5 separate regions of the Homo sapiens genome follow, and regions 1, 3, 4 and 5 are each linked to region 2. Evidence: promoter capture Hi-C in 16 types of primary human blood cells and fetal thymus (Javierre and others, 2016). All regions are on one chromosome and are shown on one strand. Each heading gives the region's core, a stretch centred on a gene start or on the middle of the fragment in contact. The rest is flanking DNA. Distances are from core to core; before and after follow the strand shown.

What was found. Contacts are between HindIII fragments. The CHiCAGO score rates a contact against its expected background, and 5 or more counts as called.
Region 1: the fragment with the promoter of C1orf220 here is called in contact with the fragment with the promoter of AXDND1 in region 2 in 7 of 17 cell types (naive CD8 T cells, erythroblasts, total CD4 T cells and 4 more); the score reaches 9.2 in naive CD8 T cells.
Region 3: the fragment with the promoter of RALGPS2 here is called in contact with the fragment with the promoter of AXDND1 in region 2 in 13 of 17 cell types (fetal thymus, naive CD4 T cells, naive CD8 T cells and 10 more); the score reaches 18.9 in fetal thymus.
Region 4: a contact is called between a fragment that was not itself captured here and the fragment with the promoter of AXDND1 in region 2, in 12 of 17 cell types (naive CD4 T cells, total CD8 T cells, naive CD8 T cells and 9 more). The highest score is 15.9, in naive CD4 T cells.
Region 5: a fragment that was not itself captured here is called in contact with the fragment with the promoter of AXDND1 in region 2 in 1 of 17 cell types (naive CD4 T cells); the score reaches 5.2 in naive CD4 T cells.

Annotation. Positions count from the first base shown.
Region 1 is chr1:178,541,450-178,544,149 of GRCh38, forward strand. C1orf220 (chromosome 1 putative open reading frame 220) reads left to right here and starts at 1,347. Exons shown (of 3, transcript NR_033186.1): 1 at 1,347-1,436. It overlaps LOC124904460 (a long non-coding RNA gene), which reads right to left and starts at 1,196. Exons shown (of 2, transcript XR_007066748.1): 1 at 585-1,196; 2 at 1-377. RefSeq lists an enhancer at 1,042-1,101 and silencers at 1,152-1,481, 1,512-1,581. The HindIII fragment of the contact is 17,585 bases long and covers 1-2,700 here.
Region 2 is chr1:179,364,570-179,367,269 of GRCh38, forward strand. It overlaps AXDND1 (axonemal dynein light chain domain containing 1), which reads left to right and starts at 1,402. Exons shown (of 26, transcript NM_144696.6): 1 at 1,402-1,431; 2 at 1,835-2,037. The coding sequence starts at 1,941. RefSeq lists enhancers at 953-1,352, 1,733-1,802. The HindIII fragment of the contact is 9,843 bases long and covers 1-2,700 here.
Region 3 is chr1:178,723,833-178,726,664 of GRCh38, forward strand. RALGPS2 (Ral GEF with PH domain and SH3 binding motif 2) reads left to right here and starts at 1,412. Exons shown (of 20, transcript NM_152663.5): 1 at 1,412-1,587. RALGPS2-AS1 (RALGPS2 antisense RNA 1) reads right to left here and starts at 2,452. Exons shown (of 1, transcript NR_187252.1): 1 at 1-2,452. RefSeq lists silencers at 1,186-1,340, 1,242-1,411, 1,672-1,791, 1,992-2,221 and an enhancer at 1,762-2,351. The HindIII fragment of the contact is 4,509 bases long and covers 1-2,832 here.
Region 4 is chr1:178,773,315-178,776,106 of GRCh38, forward strand. All of the region lies in intron 1 of RALGPS2 (Ral GEF with PH domain and SH3 binding motif 2), which reads left to right. Among named protein-coding and RNA genes, the nearest start is that of RALGPS2-AS1, 48 kb to the left of the region's middle. The HindIII fragment of the contact is 414 bases long and covers 1,333-1,746 here.
Region 5 is chr1:178,756,890-178,759,645 of GRCh38, forward strand. All of the region lies in intron 1 of RALGPS2 (Ral GEF with PH domain and SH3 binding motif 2), which reads left to right. Among named protein-coding and RNA genes, the nearest start is that of RALGPS2-AS1, 32 kb to the left of the region's middle. The HindIII fragment of the contact is 1,422 bases long and covers 749-2,170 here.

The DNA of each region.
Region 1 (2,700 bases), core at 97-2,596, 820 kb before region 2:
ACCAGCTCTCCAGGTGGCAGCCAGAGTGATCTTACAAAACCGTAGGTCAGGTCATTGCCCCCTGTCAGACTCAAGCCCATCACAGCCCTTGCTATGCTGACAGGCCCATCCCACCCCAGCCCGCTCCCCCCACCACCTGCCCCCCTCCGCCACCTCACCTGTGCCTTCTGCACGCCTCTCCCACCACTCCCCCTCCCTCCCTTTACTCTGGCCACTCTGAATGTCACTGGTCCTCCTTGAGCCCTCCTGAGCCCTCTGCCCAGAGTAATGCCAGAGTGGAGGCCACAGCTGAAGGCAGAGGCTGTTGGCCTGGGGTGGAGAGGGGAGATTCCTCTGGGTGGAAGGTGACATTGGGCAGCCTTGGATGAAGTGAATACCTGGTGTGGGGAAGCAAAAATAAATAGAGAAACAAACGGATTAATTTTGCTTCTTTCCAGGGACTTGATTTTCTACAAGTGCTGCTCCAAGAGGCTTCTACACCCCCGCAGGGAGGCAAGCACCGTTTTGAGGTGGCCGGGCTGGCGAGGAGGTGCAGACCCCAGCCAGCTGGAGGGGCTCTGCCCTGATGGCGTTCCCACTCCCACCTCATTCGCAGGGCGCCGGGGAGGGCTGCAGGTGTTCTATTCCCACCCGGCTTGCAGCGCAAGGAGGGGAATCGCCTGACACCTTCCCCTTCTCCTCTGCCCCGCTTCCTTTCTCTGCTCCCACAGGTGGAAGTCACCAGCGGAAACAACCCTTCACTGTATGGAGGGCTGGGAGAGAGGGGCCAAGAGGGCCCCGGGAGAGCCACTGGGCGGCAGGCAAGGGGCGGGGCAGTCTCCCTTCCGGCTTCCGGGACCGAAGGGTGAAGGGCAAGGGGAGCTCAGGGAATGAACGAGTGCTCCCGACTAATGTTTAACCCACGACTCCGAGACTCCGACTGGTCACAGTCCTGCAGACCTCCAGGTCCTGCACAGGCGACGCAGCGCTCCACTGGCCCGGAATGCGCACCCCGGGGGAAATGGAAAGTGCCATTGAAATGTCAGATGTCACCGTCTTCATCAGCACTCTTGGAATTTTGGCCAAAGTGGCTTCTTCTTTTGCTGAGACTTGACTCACTCCCGGCAGAGGGATGATAGCGGCCTTGCCCCGAGCGTTTATCCGGCTGCAGGCGTCATTCTTGGTCGCCTGTGTGTCCAGAGCCCCAGCGCAGGAAGGGAGCGCAATTCCCACCGCGCCCGCTGGGTGGCGCTAGCGCCGCACCGTGTCCCGGGATGAGGGGAAACCGCGCTGCCCAGTCAGTACCCCGACGCCCCCGCGCCCCCGCCGGGCCCCGCGCGCTGCAGCCACCGCCTCTTCTCGGCTTCCTCTTGCTTTACAGTAACTCTCCTCCTGGGGAAAAGGCTTTTCACGGAGCAGGCTCGGAGCCTACGGGGCTGGCCTCGGACTGGATGGGGGTAAGGACGGGTGGCGGCGCTCGCGCCGAGCGAACGGAGGGCTCAGGCGGCCGGTGATCAGGGACGGGCTGCGGCCGCCGTCTGGGGTGAGAGGCCCACCCAGAGCTCTGGGCCAGGGCTCGCGGCTCTCGTGCAGATGCTGGGCCGGGAGGTGTGGGGAGGGGGCTTCCCAGGCGGGGCAACCGGAGGGGAATGGGGTGTGCAGGAGGGAGGGGAGGCGTGGAGCGCCCGGCCTGCAGGCACTGGGCGGCGCTCTCCAGCCTCCTCTTCTCCCGCCGGGTGCCTGGTGGCTTGGCCTCCCCTCCAGAGCTTCGCATATCCTGGCGGGAGCCGGCGCTCTCTCTCCATACTTAGGACTTGACCCTTATTCCACACCCGGGCAGGGAATCATTTGCCCAATCCGAATTTGATTTTCTGCTTGTGAGAGGAGAAACTGGTGACAGTGTCGCATGGACACTGTCGGGGAAGCCGAGACGTAGACCTGGAAGCCTGTACCAGAGGCCTTGTGGACAGCTTTGGAGCATGCATCTTAAGGCACACCACCGGTTTCTGCTGCTTTGGCACAGCCACGCAGCACCTAGGATGCTTCTCTGCACGCAGCAGAGGCCTAATCCGTGCACCCTCTGACGGTGTTGGAGGGAGCTGGGGAGCAACATCAGATTAATAGCCCCTGGGCTATTTGTATGACGTGCAGATTTCACCCTCTCATTCTTAAAGGGTGAAAGGCTGCAATTCAGAAAGGCGAAGATGGGGCCCAGGAATCTGCAATCTGCGTGGGGTTTTTTTTTTTTTTATGAAGTCTTGTTCTGTCGCTCAGGTTGGGGTGCAGTGGCGCGATCTGTGCTCACCGCAACCTGTCTTCCAGGTTCAAGCGATTATCCTGCCTCAGCCTTCTGAGTAGCTGGGACTACAGGTGCATGACACCACACCTGGCTAATTTTTGTATTTTTAGTAGAGATGGGGTTTCACCATGTTCGCCAGGCTGGTCTTGAACTCCTGACCTCAAGTGATACGCCCACCTTGGCCTCCCAACGTGCTGGGATTACAGGCATGAGCCACCGCGCCTGGCCAGAGTTTGCATTTTGTTGTTGTCGTTTGTTTGTTTGAGACGGAGTCTCGCTCTGTGGCCCAGGCTGGAGTGCAGTGGCGCCATCTCGACTCACTGCAACCTCTGCTTCCCAGGTTCAAGCGATTCTCCTGCCTCAATCTCCCAAGTAGCGGGGATTAACAGGCGTGCCACCACCATGCCTGGCTAAATTTTTTA
Region 2 (2,700 bases), core at 152-2,651:
GGCTGGAGTGCGGTGGCGCCATCTCGGCTCACCGCAACCCTTTCCTCCCCGGTTCAAGCGAATCTCCTGCTTCAACCTCCTGAGTAGCTGGGATTACAGGCGCGCGCCACCTCTCTTGGCTAATTTTTGTGTTTTTAGTAGAGACGGGGTTTCACCATGTTGGTCAGGCTGGTCTCGAACTCCTGACCTCGTGATCCACCCGCCTCGGCCTAAGAAAGTGCTGGGATTACAGGCGTGAGCCACCGGCCGCTGATGGTATTCTTTCCTGAGGGCAGATTTTCACGCCAGAAGCCCCGACAATTATACCTGAGCTGGTTCCACCTAAGCTCAATCCTCCTTCCCTGCCCCAAGGGGGTGAAAAATCTGGGCCCAGGAGGCCTTCCTTGTGCTCTGGGGGGAGGCATTTAAGGGTCCAAGGAAGACGTGACCGAAATGTAAAGCACTGGACGGCTTACCCAATAAGGGACCCAGCGTTTCTTATTACCCAACATCCCCCTGAGTCTGGCTTTTAGAAAAATATGCAAAGCGTCCGGGCGCAGTGGCTCACGCCTATGATCCCAGCACTTTGGAAGGCCGAGGCGGGCGCGGTCAGGAGTTTGAGACCAGCCTGGCCAATATGGTGAAACCCCGTCTCTACTAAAAATACAAAAATTAGCCGGGCATGGTGGCCCCCGCCTGTAGTCCCTCGGGAGGCTGAGGCAGGAGAATCGCTTGAACCTGGGAGGCGGAGGTGGCAGTGAGCTGAGATCGCACCATTGCACTCCAGCCAGCGCGACAGAACGAGACTCCGTCTCAAACAAAACAAAACAAAAAACAAACTACAAAATTAGCCGGGCATGGTGGCGTCTGCCTGTAGTCCCAGCTGCTTGGGAGGCTGAGGCAGGAGAATTGCTTGAACCCAGGAGGTGGAGGTTGCAGTGAGCCGAGATCGCACCATTAAACTCCAGCCTGGGCGACAAGAGGGAAATTCCGTCTCAGGGGAAAAAAAGAGAAAGAAAGAAAAAGAGGAAGAAAGAGAAAGAAAAATATGCAAAGCAACAAAAAAGAGAGCTAGAAAGATGGAAACAACTCAGAAGACCCTTGCTTAACCCGCGTGCGTCACGGGCTACAGGGGTCGGCCCCTCGAGCTAACCCCCACCGGCGCCTGCGCACTGGCCTGGCCCGCGGCAGGAAGCCCCGGCGTGAGACACTTTCGGATTCCGTGACAACGGCGGGATTAAACGTTTTTCTTCTCCTTTGCTACTGAACCTATGCTGTGACTTAGAACATAAGAAACTCCAAGAGGGTGTAGGGATTGTCTTAGCTGTCTCCCTCCTCCGCCGGCACCGCTGAAGGCAGCCCCTATGGAGGGCGCTAAACCTCGGGGCCCTGGGTTTCTATGACGACAAACAGGCGTTCCAGCAAAGGAGGAAGTGAGCGGATGCTGGGCGGGTACGCAATGTGTGGGTAGGATCGCGGGTGTCCCTTTCCCGTCATTTTAAACCAAGAAGCAGTGCGAGGCCTGCCCAACTCGCGAGTTTGTGGAACTGGCGCGCGAGAGCGCTGCCTGTGGGGAAGGTATGGTCCCCAGCCGAGCCGCCTGCAGCGAGTGTCCCCCACCAGGGGTGCCGGCGGTCTGCGGGGTCCGCCGAGCGGGTCCTTCCTGCCCTGCTCCTTGACCCCGACCTGACGGTCCACTAAGGCTTCTTAGTCGCTACACATAACCCCAGAACATAGAGGTCGCCCCGAAGAAGGAGAACCATGCTAGATGAATTCTAAACTGCGATCTGAACCTAAGTACTCAATAGTTGTCATCTTTTTTTTTTTTTTTAAATCTTTTTTCCTCTGCCTGCAGGACTATGTGGCAGCCTGCAAGTCCCAGTGCGGCGCTGATTTGTGTCTAAATTAGCTTTCCGGAGGACTATTTCAAATTACTAAAGAGATAGGAGGCATTGTTTATTATGTCTCTCCCGAAAACGCCCTCCACCCCGCTAAACTCTACATCAACATCTGAGAGCAAAAAGTTAAAAGTGTCTGTAGCCAAGGAAGGGACAAGAGGTAAACTTCGTTGATTCTGAAGTCATAAACAGTCATGGCCGTAAGACAGAAATCACCTTCCATTCACCGGTTTTTTAAATCTGATATTCAGAATACCTTGATTGGCTACATTTTTCTAACACACTTGCTTAAATAAAGCAAGAAGTCATTCCTTTTACAGTATTTTGAGTCAGAGTACTGTTTCACTACTCCATCTAAATACAGTTTATACTTTTTTTCAAATGTTGATTTATATATGATTTTAAATTCAACCTATTTTAAATATCAATAGTTACGTATTTTTTGGTTCCTGGTCTTTGGCTTTAAGGAACTTTGGAAAAAGTAATAGTGAGGCAGGGCGCGGTGGCTCACGCCTGTAATCCCAGCACTTTGGGAGGCCGAGGTGGGCGGATCACTTGAGGTCAGGAGTTCGAGACCAGCCTGGCCAAATATGATGAAATCCCGTCTCTACTAGAAATACAAAAATTAGCCGGGCATGGTGGCTCGCGCCTGTAGTCCCAGCTTACTCTGGAGGCTGAGGCAAGAGAATCGCTTGAACCCAGGAGGTGAGGTTGCAGTGAGCCAGGATCGAGCCATTGCATTCCAGTCTGGGAGACAAGAGCAAGACCCCATCTCAAAATAAATAAATAAATAGGCCGGGCACAGTGGCTCACACCTGTAATC
Region 3 (2,832 bases), core at 162-2,661, 640 kb before region 2:
GTTGTTTATTTGGGACTTGAAGCAACTAACATCTATGCGAAAACTTTCTGTATACATAATGCACTTCCCTCCTTTTTACCAATCATCTTCCTTTTTCTTTTCTTTTTTGGACTCTTGTCATTTGAAATATTGGGTGGGGGGGAACGCTTTTTTTCTTCTTTTGATTGCTCTACTTCTTCTAGTGATTTCGTCATGATTCAAGACTTTCTTTGAAAGTAAAATGGAATAAAAATGAAACACTACGAACTTTGTTGCCTATCCTCGCTGTTTTTCTTTTTGACTTAACTTTGCGTTGGGGTGCTTTAAAGTAACCCTATTTGAGAGAAGGAGGTTGAAGGGCATTCTAGCGTCCCCAACTAGAGTAAAAGGGCTATGACAGAAGGCAATCAAAGGAGGAAATAATTAGCAATCTTCAACGTTCAAGATTAATCAGTTCTGTTTAGCGGTTATTAAAGGGAAGAAAGAAACCAAATGGGAATAGTGAATTATTGGTCCTTTCATGTTTTACACTTAATGCTGGTACATAGTATTCTTTCCACATTCTACTGCACATTGCCTAGAGAAAGAACTGCAGATCATCAAATAATTATCCATTTCCAAATGGTCTAATGACAGCAGATACAAAGGCGGCTCACTTAAAACCTTCCGTTAACAGTCACACTGCATCAAATGGTGCTAGCTTTAAGTAGGCCACCCATTTAGTAGACTCTGAAACAACACCTTTCCGCCCAATTTCTGTCATTTGCTCCTTAAGTCAAGGGTAGTACCCTGCGTAACATCTTACAAAGGCCTACTTCTAACACTTCCCGAATCTTAATGTGTGAGGATGTTGATCACCATAATTTATGACCTTATCTAAGACAGTGGGGTGACTCTCCACATTGGGAGCCCCCTCATTTGTCCTCAGTGACTTCTAAAAACACCGCTGGCGTGGGCTGGATATTTGATCTTGGGGCCAAGTGCTTCCAGACTTTGTTCTCTGGCCTTAAAGGTGAAGAGCCCGGCGCTGAAGGCCACAGACATCACGGCGGATTTCACAGAGGGCCGCGTTCCGGGAGCGGGTGGCCAGGCGGTGGCGGACGCCCCACCTGTCCATCCTCCTACCCCTTCCCCCCCCCGTTGTTTGGCCGGTGGGAGCCCCTCCTTTCAGCAGGCGCCGGGCGGTGGGGTTGCGGATGGCTGCGCGCGCTGCGGGCACCGATCACCGGCGGCAGTTGGGCTCCGCGGGGCCGAAAAGCTGCGGGCGGGAAGCGCGAGGTTAAGACCCTGACGGCTGCAGCTCTCAGAGCCCCCGCGAGCGCGCTCCGTTGGTGCGCGCGCGCGCGCGGCTCCGCCCCGCCCGCTTGGCGCGCGCCCCCGCCAGGTCCGCTCTCGTCCCCCACCCCTGGCGCGGACGGGGTGGTTCCAGCTCACTCTCCTCCCCCGAGCGGCAGCGGCGGCGGCGGCGGCGGCTGCTGCGGGCGCTGAATGAGAGACGGTGACTGTTCGGGTCGACGAGTGCTACTCTAGGCGGCGGCGGCCGTGGCGGTGAAGCGTGAGGCCGGCATCGTCTTTCCGTCCTCTGAGGCGACGGCCGCGGCTGCACAGGTCGGTGGGCTCAGGCCGCGGGGCGGTGCGGGGGAGGGAGGGAGGGAGGGTGGGTACGCGGCGCCCCCCGGGCGGCGCGGGGAATGGCGGCGGCGGCGCTGCGGAGTGTGGCTCTCCCGGCCGCGGGCCCCGGGGCTGCTCGCCCTGCGCGCAGGGAGGGGGCTGCGGAGCTGGGGCTGAGGCTGAGGGAGAAGGGCGCTGGGCGGCGCGCCTCCCTCGGCCGCGGGTTCTCAGAGTCGGAGCGGCCGTGGGGTCCCCGCTCGGGGGCGCCGTCCTGAAGCCGGGGGCGCTGCGACCCCTTGAACCCGCCTCGCTCTCCCTCTTGGGTGGCGGAAGCCCCCAGCCTCCGCCCGCTCTGTTCTGGCGCCCAGCGGCGCCTCAGTCTTCCTTCAGGTGAGCCCGATCCCGGACCTCGGAGCCAGGACCAGCAGAAGCCGGGCCACACCCCCTCCCCTGGCCCTGGCGGCTGCGCCCAGAAGCCTGGCCGCAGAGTTGGCCGCCCGCGAACCCGCGGAGTCGCGGTCAGGGTGACCTGTTGCAGAGCGGCCCGCAGCCCGAGCGGCCCCCGCCAGCCCCGGCCCCGGAGGGGCTGCGTCCTGTGCTGGCCTCGGGCCGGGCGCGCGGGCCGGGTGTGGGGCAGGGGCCGCAGCCCCAGGTCGGCTTGCTCTACGGCCTGGAACCGGGCTCTAGAAAAAAAAGGAGATTCCGAACGTATCTCATCAAACACTTGCAAAGCCGGGAGATCTGTCTGCAAATATCCGGAATTCCATTGCAGTATCGGATTAGGTAGGCTCATAAACACCGTGCTTTTGAGGTGATTTGGAAGAAACGCGAGCCACGAGCGAGGAACTAGTTTCTGGAAAATAGCCGTAAACCTGTGCGGAGCGAATTATTAACCCCCCGCCCCAGCTCCCCCCTCGAAGCTCTTTTCCTGTAGCTGTGTGTTGTGTAGACGCAAGCCAGTTTCAGTGTACGTGGGCGTGTTTGGGAAGAAGCTGCGAGCTGATAGGAGGTACCTAGTACAAATGTTAATTTGTTTGAGTTGGGAGGGGTAAGGGAGGAGGAAGAAAGGGCACTGATGTTAGCTGTGGAGGAGGGGCAATTGAAATACTAAATTTCTGTTAAAAAAAAAAAACCCCAAAAGAAATATCTAATGCCTACTGTGTATTTAAGACCATAAAGTGGAATCACACAAGCAGCAGTTAATTGAGCTTTATCGTTTATGCTCCCTGGATTTTTTTTCCC
Region 4 (2,792 bases), core at 290-2,789, 590 kb before region 2:
GCCTGCATGACAGAGCAAGACCCTGTCTCTTAAAAAAAAGGCTACTGTGATGTTGAGTCATGTTGAAAGATCTTGTCATTTATAACACAAAGAAAAGTAAATAAAATATTAAAGCATATATTTGGCATATTTAATGTGAACTTTTCTGTGTGCAAAGTATAGAAAGGTCTTTGAAGGACGTACTAAAAGAATAAACTCGTATCTCTGTCTTTTAGAACTTGTAGTACTTTTATAATATCGTATAAGCCTCTCTGTTATACTTCAACATTATTAAATACTATTGACTCCTGGCTAACACGGTGAAACCCCATCTCTACTAAAAATACAAAAAATTAGCCGGGCGTGGTGGCGGGCGCCTGTAGTCCCAGCTACTCAGGAGGCTGAGGCAGGAGAATGGTGTGAACCCGGGAGATGGAGCTTGCAGTGAGCCAAGATCCCGCCACTGCACTCCAGCCTGGGCGACAGAGCAAGACTCCGTCTCAAAAAAAAAAAAAATACTATTGACATGTACATTTGTAAATAGTTACGAAAAGTTTATATTCTTTAAGGTATGCTTTGCTATATTTTAAAATATGTAATGGATTTTAATGTGACCTTAATTTTCATGAAATACATGGGTGACAATTTATTTTAAAAGCAGAGAAGGCCAGGTGCAGTGGCTGACGCCTGTAATCCCAGCACTTTGGGAGGCCAAGGCCTGCAGATCACCTGAGGTTAAGAGTTCGAGACCAGCCTGGCCAACATGGTGAAACCCTGTCTCTACAGCCTGACCAACATGGTGAAACCCTGTCTCTACTAAAAATACCCAAAATTAGCTGGGTGTGGTGGCTTGTGCCTATAATCCCAGCTACTCAGGAGGCTGAGGCTGGAGAATTGCTTGAACCTGGGAGGCGGAGGTTGCAGTGAGCTGAGATCATGCCATTGCATGCCAGCCTGGGCAACAAGCAAAACTCTGTCTCAAAAAAAAAAATAAAAGGAGAGAAAATGTGATTCTTCATGCTTATAGTTTACAAATATTTTAATATTGTTCCTGGTCTGTATTACATTTTTTTAAGTAAAAGTAATAAATTGTATATTTTGATATGTAAAGTAAGTTAAAGATATAACTCCTTTACCTATTAAATTAAAATCTTTTTCTTAGCACTAGGGGGCACCCCTGATTTATAAATTCATGTTATACTTAATGTTGCCTAGAAAGTGGAATGAAATGTAATTATTTGAAAAATATTTTGCAAACTGAGTGCTATGTTCAAAGAGAATCTGGATTATCAGCTGGTTTTGTTGCATAGCAGTATAAATATAAGTTGATTCTTAATACTATAAGGATAATGAAGCTTATAGAATAAGATAGTTTAGATGGGAGGAAATTGTTTTGTAGTTTATTCATTTTCACGTTGATTTTCTAAGTAGGTGCGTTAAATGGTTTTAAAACTTCATGATTTTGAATATATTTCTGTTTTAAAAATCCTAGCACGATGTTCTGCTCTTAGCAGGTACCTAGGCTGTATCTGAATAAATTAAGATAAATTCAAGATGTGACTGAAGGCTGCTATCATTAGTAATAATTTTTAAGCATTTCAAAACCAAGAGCATGTTTTACTACTTCTAGGAAACAGATCTTAGCCATTCTCATTCATTGTGTTTGCAATTAGGATTTTTAGTAATGCCCAGCAACAATTGCTTCCCAAAGGTGTATTTCTAAGGTTTTGTCTTTTCTTTTTTATTTAAGAGACTCTGTTGAATTTAAGCTTTATGGGAATTAAGCAGATAGTAACATCTGCATCATCATTACATCATAGTAATAGCATATTTACCATGTGCCAACACTGTTTTAGGTGCTTTGTGTATATTATCTCATTTCGCTTCACCACAACTCTATGAAGTAGGTACTTATTATCCCTATTTTATAGATGAGAAAACTGAGTACAGAAAAGTTAAAATTTCCTGGGTTTACACAGAGGTAATGTGGTTCCAAAATTTGTGCTTTTAAATCACTATATCCTATATTGCTTCTCCAGAGAAAGGAAACTTAGCATTGAAGTAATTATTATTAACATTTAAAACTCAGCTTTTAAAGTGAATGTAGCATAGAGTACCTAATTTATAGACACTTACCATTTCTCTTATGAAAAACGTCATAGATCTTTAAAGTTGAAAAGGGATCTTAAAGTTCATTTACCACTGTCATTTTACAAAGAGGAAGAAATTCTGTCCTAGAGGTAAAGTTACCTACTCAGTTTATATGACAGGTTATTTATGGAAAGGTATTAGAACTTCAAGTAAGTACTCTGACTTCCAGTAAAGTGGAAAATCTGTGTTGTGAAAAGAATATTTGACTAGAATTTTGATGGCTTGAAACTTGTTCTTGGCTCCTTATTTACCATCCTGTGTCCTCAGAAGCTCTGTGTTTGTTTGTTATGTGGGTATATCTTCCCTAATTAGTGTTATTGGTAGTTGTGCAAATCAACATAATGTATTAAAGATATTTAATAAACTTTAAAGTCCTATACAAATAAACATAGTGTATATTATGGTACAGTAAAGCCACCATATCCATGGGTTCTACATCTGGATTCAAACAAATCTGAGTTGAAAATACTTGGGGCAAAAAAAAAAAAAAAAGGATGGTTGCATCTGTACTGAACATGTACAGACTTTTCCTTGCTATAATTCCCTAAAAAATACAATATAACAACAATTTACGTAGCATTGGCACTGTATTAAGTATTATGAGTAATCCGGAGATGATTTAAAGTATACAAGAGGATGTGTATAGGTGATATGCAAATACT
Region 5 (2,756 bases), core at 210-2,709, 610 kb before region 2:
CCTCCTTAATTTTTTTGATTCTTTCAAACCAGCAGCATGGAATGCTTACCCATTTGTTTGCATCATATGTGATTTCTTTCAGCAGTGTTTTGTAGTTTTTGTAGAGATCTTTCACCTCCTTGGTATTTGTTTGTTTGTTTCTATGTATTCCTAGGTATTTTGTTGTTGTTGATTCTATTGTAAATGGAATTGTGTTCTTGATTTGGCTCTCAGCTTGAACGTTATTGTTGTATGGAAATGCTACTGATTTTTGTACATTGACTTTGTATCTTGAAACTTTACTGAGTCATTTATTGGTTGTAGGAGCCCGTTTGCGGTCTTTAGGGTTTTCTAGGTATAGAATCACATAGTCAGTGAAGAGAGCTAGTTGGACTTATTTTTTTCCTATTTGGATGCCTTTTATTTCTTTCTCTTGTGCAATTGTTCTGACAAGGACTTCCAGTACTATGTTAAGTGAGAGTGGGCATCCTTGTCTTGTTCCAGCTCTCAAGGGGAATACTCTTAGCTTTTGCCTGTTCAGTATGATTGGCTGTGGGTTTGTCATAGATGGCTCTTATTATTTTGAGGTATGTTCCTTTGATGCCTAGTTTTTTTGAGGGTTTTTATCATAAGGGATGTTGGATTTTATCAAAAGCTTATTCTGTATCTATTGAGATGATCATAGGGTTTTTATTTTTAATTCTGTTTATGTGGTGAATCACATTTATTGATTTGTGTATGTTGAACCAACCTTGCATCACAAGAGTGAAGCTTGCTTAATCATGGTGAATTAACTTTTTGGTGTGCTGCTGGATTCGGCTTGCTAGTCGTGTGTTGAAGATTTTTACGTTTATGTTCATCAGGGATATTGGCCTGCAGTTTACTTGTTTTGTTGTGTTTTTGCCAGGTTTTGGTATCAAGGTGATGCTGGCTTCATAGAATGAGTTAGGGAGGAGTCCCCCCTCCTTGATTTTTTGGAGTAGGTTCAGGAAGACTGTTACCAGTTTTTCTTTGTATGTCTGGTAGAATTTGTGAATCCATCTGGTCTAGGGCCTTTTTTGGTTGGTAGGTATTTTATTACTTATTCAGTTTTGGAATTTGATATTGGTGTGTTTAGGGTTTCAGTTTCTTTCTAATTCAATCTTGGGGGGTTGTGATTTTTCAGGAATTTATCCATTTTCTCTAGATTTTTTAGTTTGTGTGTGTACAGGTGTTCATAATAGTCTTTGAGGATGTTTTGTATTTCTGTGGAATTGGTTGTAATGTCACTTTTGTCAATTCTGATTGCTTATTTGGATCTCCTTTCTTCTTAGTTTATCTATCTGGTGGTCTGTTAATCTCATATAACCTTTCAAAGAACCAACTTTTGGTTTCATTGATTCTTTTAATTTTTAATTCTTGGGGGTATATAGTAGGTGTATGTATTTAGGTGGTACGAGATACTTTGATAGAGGCATACAGTGCGTAATAATCATCTCGTGGTAAATGGGTTATTCATCCCCTCAAGCATTTATCCTTTGTTACAAGCAATCCAATTATACTCTTTTAGTTATTTTAAAATGTACAATTAAATTATTATTGACTATAGTCACCCTGTAGTGCTATCAAATACTAGGTCTTATTCTTTCTAACTGCTTTTTATACCCATTATCTGTCACTTCCTACCCCCCCTGCCCTCATCCCCTCCACTGCCCTTCTCAGCCTCTGGTAACCATCCTTCTCTCTGTCTCCATGAGTTCAATTGTTTTGATTTTTAGCTCTCACAAATAAGTGAGAACATACAATGTTTATCTTTCTGTGTCTGGCTTATTTCACTTAACATGACCTCCAGTTCCATCCATGTTGTTGTAAATGACAGGATCTCAGTCTTTTTATGGCTGAATAGTACTCCATGATGTATATGTATAATATTTTCTTTATCCATACGTTCATCTGTTGATGGACACTTACAGTGATGTTGAGAACTTTTTCATATGCCTCTTTACCAGTTATATGTTTTCTTTGGAGAAATGTCTAGTCAGATCTTTTGCCCATTTAAAAAATCAGAGTATTAGATTTTTTTTTTCCTGTAGAGTTGTTTGAGCTCCTTATATGTTCTGGTTATTAATCCCTTCTCAGATGGGTAGGCTGCAAATATTTTCTTCCATTCTGTAAGTCGTCTCTTTGTTGATTGTTTCCTTTGTTGCGCAAAAGCTTTTTAACTTGATGTGATCCTATTTGTCCATTTTTGCTTTGGTTGCCTGTGCTTGTGGGGTGTTATTCAATAGATTTTCTCCCAGACCAATGCTCTGGAGGGTTTTCCAAGTGTTTTCTTGTAGTAGTTTCATTGTTTCAGGTCTTCGATTTAAGTCTGTAATCCATTTTGGTTTGATTTTTGTATAAGGTGAGAGTTAGGGGTCTAGTTCCATTCTTCTATACATGGATATCTAGTTTTCCCAGCCCTGTTTATTGAAGAGACTGTCCTTTTCCCATTGCCAATGAATGTTCTTGGCACCTTTGTTGAAAATGAGTTTACTGTAGGTGTGTGGATTTGTTTCTGGATTCTCTGTTCTGTTCAATTGGTCTATTTCTATGTTTTTATGCCAGTACATGCTGTTTTGGTTACTGTAACTCTATAGTATAATTTGAAGTCAAGTAATAGGATTCCTCAGTTTTGTTCTTTTTTTTTTTTTTTTTGCCCAAGATTGCTTTAGCTATTCTGTGTCTTCTGTGGTTCCATATAAATTTTAGGATTGTTTTTTCTATTTCCATGAAGAATATTATTGGTATGTTGATAG